Regions from separate parts of the Homo sapiens genome. Here region 1 is linked to region 2. Evidence: promoter capture Hi-C in human tissues and cell types (Jung and others, 2019). All regions are on one chromosome and are shown on one strand. Each heading gives the region's core, a stretch centred on a gene start or on the middle of the fragment in contact. The rest is flanking DNA. Distances are from core to core; before and after follow the strand shown. Region 1 overlaps LOC105378806 (a long non-coding RNA gene). Region 2 holds the start of ASB17 (ankyrin repeat and SOCS box containing 17).

Region 1 (3,060 bases), core at 29-2,528, 39 kb before region 2:
AGTGGCTCACGCCTGTAATCCCAGCACTTTAGGAGGCCGAGGCGGGCGGATCACGAGGTCAGGAGATTGAGACCATCCTGGCTAACACCGTGAAACCCCGTCTCTATTAAAAATACAAAAAATTAGCCAGGTGCGGTGGCGGGTGCCTGTAGTCCCAGCTACTCGGGAGGCTGAGACAGGAAAATGGCGTGAACCCGGGAGGTGGAGCTTGCAGTGAGCTGAGATCGAGCCACTGCACTCCAGCCTGGGCGACAGAGTGAGACTCCATCTCAAAAAAAAAAAAAAAAAGATCGCTTTGGGTATCCCCAAAGAAGACAACTAGGTAAGGAACACCTGATAGCACTGTTTCTCATGGTGTTTTGTTAACATCTTACATATGAATCACTAGGGTCCTTGTTAAAAATACAAATTCCTAGGCCCTACCATTGAAACCCACTGCTTTAGCAAATCTGTTTTAAGTAGCCTCTTTCTGTCTGTGTATACTAGATAATGTCTTGACTTTTCCTAGAGTTACATAACTCCCAACTCAGTAATGCCACAATCCCTTTAAATCAATAAAGGTTTAAGACCATTAACAATTTCTTAGGAGCTTATGCCCAAGCTAATATTTAAAAGGGACTTGTAATTACCTGGCCTTTAAGCAGGTATTCTTGGTGGACTGGCATAAGGAAGAACCTGTAATGGCCAATGAAATCAGTGTTTGAAATATCCCTTGGTATTATTGTCAAGAATATCAAGCACCAACCATGTGCTTATATTAACCATAATGCTAGTGTTAGGTACACAAAGGTGATAGTTTCATTTCTCAAGGAATTTTATAGGTACACAAATATATGAATATAGTTTATTCTCATTATTCATGAGAATCATATTCTATAAAGTCATTCCAAATGCTAAATTATCAAATATTGAACCACTGCTCCAAGGGGAAACATGGGGTTAAGTTCCTGTGAACCTCTGGTCACAAAATTTGTTTTGTCCACTGATCAGTATGTAACCTTGTTTTATGTGGCATTCTGTTTAAAGATACCTTATTTAATACATATTTTTGATTCACTGACATTGAATACAATGCTAGCCAACAGCATTAGACTTCGTGCCTAAGTGAAGCTTACCTAACACACATGTTCTTTTTAAGACACATCAGAGACTTTTTGCGGTTAGGCGCACTAGCCAGCACTTCAGCACTATCCTTGGGGGCCATTCTAGATGGGGAAATCACCAATGAAAAGCACAAAAATGTGACAATATGGCGCCAAACAGACCACAAAATAGATATATGTTCATAGTATGAGAGCTAAAGGAAGAAAACAGAGTGTCCCTTAATTTGATCTCAGCTGGGAATGTGTGTCAGGTGACATAAAATTTTTGCCATTATGCATACGTGTGTCTACAAATGACTAGGAAAGTGATGCAAGTATCAATTTAGGGGTTACAAATAAATTTTAGCAAGTAGGAAAATTCACAAATATGGAATCTGTGAATAATAAGGATTAACTGTATGTGCATTCATAATGTACTGCAATGGAAGCGTAACAGGGTACAATAGAAATGCAGGGAAAGAGAACTTAATGTAGTGGGTGGTAAAGCACAGAAGATGGAAAAGCTGTCAGAGAGGAAGTCATGCTTAAGCAAAAACTTGTGAAGTAAACATGAATTTGACCAATAGGCAAACAAGGAAAGGATATACCAGGAAGGGGAAACATGTGAGGAAAGAATACAAGGCAGAACAACCTGGTGAGGAAAGACCCTGAAAGGCTTCGTATGCCATGCTAAGGAGGTTAGATTTTATTTTTTGTAAATCGCAGGGGATGATATCCTGCTTAATTGAGTAGACTCTCTCAATTTGCATTTCTCTTCTATTAGCCACATTGCTTCTCCAACACCAAGTACTAGGAGAGTGTAAATGATTATTTTCAGAACTGCAATTGTTTGCCCTATCCCTTTTGTAATTTCTCCTACTTAAATTTCATTTCCTAAATATGGCTTGCCTGAAAGCTTCCTGTTATGATTTATTCACTGAGTAATTTCATATTTAGGAGATGATGTTTTTGCAATGTTTTGATTAGATGAGAATCTAATACATGAAACATGACATGAATCAGTATCTGTCTAATTCTCAGATAACTACAACTCTATCACATATACCAGTCAGAATGGCTATGATGTCTACTGCATGTCAGTTGCATGCTTTTGACTAAGCAGGGAAAAAATATCATCAAGGAAGAAGTTTCTGTGTATCTGGAGAAGGTAAACTATAAACCAATTCAAAGATGTGGCAAATTACCTGGCAGCCAACTGAGAAAAATTTGCATTACTGGGGGCTCTGTGGTTGTTGTTGGGGTAGTTTAGGAGCCTGGAGTCCTTTTTTCGCATTGCTAGCCTTAGACAGTGCTCAGGCAGGTTTGCCTTTTGTTCACCAAATGAAATTGCCACAGATACTTGGGTGATGAGATGTAGTTACCGGGCATCAGTACAGGCCACTGTCATCCATCACCTCTTTTATTACTATCATCTCCTATCTGCCTTCCCTTACTCTAGTCTCACTTCCTCTCCCATTCATTGCAAATTCATGCCAGAGTAGCCTTCTTCAAGTAGTGCTATACACTGGATTTTGATCCCTACAATTTATTTGTTGAAGCCCTAACCCTCAATGTGACTGTATTTAGAATAGGGCCTTCATGAAGGTAATTAAGATTAAATGAGAACATAAGGCTGGATCCATAAACAGATAGGATGGGGGTCCTTATAAGAAAAGGAAGAGCTCTCAGAGATCTCTCTGTGCACACACACAAAGAAAAGATCATGTGAGGATAGTGAGACAGTGGCAATATACATGCTAGGAAGAGCTGCAACACCAGATCCCAAACCTGATGGCACTTTGATCTTAGACTTCTAACCTCCAGAACTGTGAGAAAATAAACTTCTGTTGTTTAAGCCACTCAGCCTATGGTATTTTGTCATGGTAGCCTGAGCAGACTAATACAAGTTAGTATAGCCAACACATTACTCTCCAGCTTGCAGATCTGCAAGGGCTTTCCTTAACATCGTCTCAAGGCC
Region 2 (2,777 bases), core at 24-2,523:
ATAAAAACAACCATAACATCTTTCCCCTTTATTGTAGTGGGGCAAGGACACCATATCAAGCTTGAAGTACCTTTAATGTTCAAATTGTATACATTCTGCCTGGTTTATAGAGGAATAATTTCTGTAAAATTTAAAATTCTAAAAAAAGGTCAGATGCAGTGGCTCACGCCTGAAATCTCAACACTTTGGGAGGTCAAGGCAGGCGGATCATGAGGTCAGGAGTTCGAGGCCAGCCTGGCCAACATGGTGAAACCCTGTCTCTACTAAAATACAAAAATTATCCGGGCGTGGTGGTGTGCACCTGTAATCCCAGCTACTCAGGAGGCTGAGGCAGGAGAATTGCTTGAACCTGGGAGGTGGAGGTTGTAGTAAGCCGAGATCGCACCATTGCACTCCAGCCAAGGCAAAAGAGTAAGACACTGTCTCAACAACAAAAATCTAAAACAAAGTCTTTAAATTTTGGTTAATATTGTATGACATTCTTTCTCTTTGGGAATGAATATATTGGCAGGTTACTTAACCTATGTAAGCTTCAGTCAGGCACAGTGCCTCAAGCCTGTAATCCTAGCACTTTGGGAGGCTGAGGCAGGGAGATCACTTGAGCTCGGGAGTTCAAGACCAGCCTGGCCAACATGGCATAACTCTGTTTCTATAAAAAATACAAAAATTAGCCAGGCATGGCGGTGCATGCCTGTAGTCCCAGTTGTTTGGGAAGTTGAGGTGAGAGAAAGCTTGAGCCCAGGAGGTCAAGGCCGCAGTGAGCCATGATCGTACCACTGCACTCCAGCCTGGGTGACAGGGTGAGACCCTGTCTCAAACAACAAAAAAATTATCTGTGTAAGCCTCAATTTCCTCAACTACAAGATAGGGGAAATAATCAATGAGGATTAAGTGAGAGCATACAGTATTCATGCAGAACATGAGAACAACACTTGAATTTATTCACTCTAGCAATCATTGTCTGCTTACATAATAGCCTACAAAGGATAATCAATGTATTTATTACCATTATTTAGTCTACTGAAGAAACATGCAGAACTTGAGAAACCAGGCAGACTACCTTGAACTGAATTCTTAGAAAATTAAATATATTGTATCTTAGCTTTCACGTATGTCATTTCTGTCCAATATGTCTCTTTCAAATGTCACCAGTTACATACAATATCCCCTCTGACCTATGCTGGTGACCTCTACCTATTGTGGAGGAATCTCCACCTATTGTGATGTCATCCAGTACTTTATGGTAATATTTATTTTTTCTGGTTACAGTTTAAAGGGCACTTCTGTTTGTGGAGTAAAGCCTGCCACATTGTCAAAATATGTAACTGGAGGATTACAGTATGCTTACCTCTGATTTTATTTCTACAGTGCTGCTATAAGTAACAATGAGTAAATCTACTAAATTATGTGGTAAGACTTCTTGTCCAAGAAGCAATATATTCTGCAATCTCCTTGACAAAATTGTTAAAAGACCCTCCCTACAGTTTTTGGGTCAGTGGGGATATCACTGTTACGAACCAAGGATTTACAGATCACTGGCAAAAATTCTGAGGTATGTGGACTTGGATGGTTTTGACGCACTACTCACAGATTACATTGCATTTGTGGAAAAATCAGGATACCGTTTTGAAGTAAGTTTTAACCTCGACTTCACTGAAATATGTGTGAATACAATTCTGTACTGGGTTTTTGCCAGAAAAGGTAATCCTGACTTTGTGGAATTGCTTCTCAAGAAGACAAAAGACTATGTTCAAGACAGAAGTTGTAACCTGGCACTGATATGGAGGTAATAATTTCATATGTTTTCACTATAGAACAAGAAAATTTATCTTTACGAGAGTAGAGTGCTTCTTTTTTCTAAAACTCACATGTATAGTGGCTATATGTGAAGTAAGGAATTCTCACCTAATTGCTTGACCACGTGTTCACTCCTTCACTCTTTTATTATGTATTCCATTTTTATTTATATGTAAATTATTATGTACCAATAAATCATTAGTGATTCTGCTCTACACAGCTTACATGTTAGTGCTAAACAACATGTTTCTCTAACTAAACAAAGACACTATGTTGTGTAATACTATGATCTCCTATTTCTGCGAATCCTATGGTTTTATATTTATATATGTTTATAAGCTGACTTTCAAAGTACAATTGGGAACATGCACACATCTTCACATAGTAATACTTATTAAACACAATAGTTCCCTATTTGTGTGTTAAACATTTATAAATTAGACTCCAAATTCTCCAAATTTGAGCACAATGAAGGTCAAGTACCTGATGCTATCGATAATAGAACCAAATTTTTATAGTGTTCACATGTCAATCTACCTAATGCATACTACTGAGGATCTTATGAAAATCAAATCTCCAATGTATCCTCTTTTTAGAGTCCATAATATAGAATTTAAAGTTACCTAGTTTGCACTAACTTTAATTTATTCTTTCGTTTTAGATATTCATCTGAATAAAACATTCATGTGTTCATTCATTCAGCAAAATATTTATTAATCACATTACTATGTATGCAAGTCTGTACTAGGTGCAATATAAATGCATGTATGCAATGAAAAACAAAATGGACAAGATCAGTTAAAGACTAAACCAATTTAGATTCTGCCTAAAGCAGAGTTTTTTCTTGATTGTGCATCCTATGGTATCGGAGAACCACTGGATTTCATTACTTAATGATTACTAAAGTACATGAACTGATAGCTGTAGTTTGGAAACAACAATAAACAAAACTACCAAATGGTACTTTGTGTTTTAAGTAA

What was found. The method cuts DNA at HindIII sites, captures the fragments that hold promoters and counts their contacts. A contact is called where the count stands out against the background at its distance.
Region 1: a contact is called between a fragment that was not itself captured here and the fragment with the promoter of ASB17 in region 2, in 1 of the 25 tissues and cell types used here (H1 embryonic stem cells).

The regions. Positions count from the first base shown.
Region 1 is chr1:75,969,835-75,972,894 of GRCh38, reverse strand. All of the region lies in intron 2 of LOC105378806 (a long non-coding RNA gene), which reads left to right. Among named protein-coding and RNA genes, the nearest start is that of ASB17, 39 kb to the right of the region's middle. The HindIII fragment of the contact is 4,750 bases long and covers 1-3,060 here.
Region 2 is chr1:75,930,900-75,933,676 of GRCh38, reverse strand. ASB17 (ankyrin repeat and SOCS box containing 17) reads left to right here and starts at 1,273. Exons shown (of 3, transcript NM_080868.3): 1 at 1,273-1,786. The coding sequence starts at 1,386. The HindIII fragment of the contact is 7,737 bases long and covers 296-2,777 here.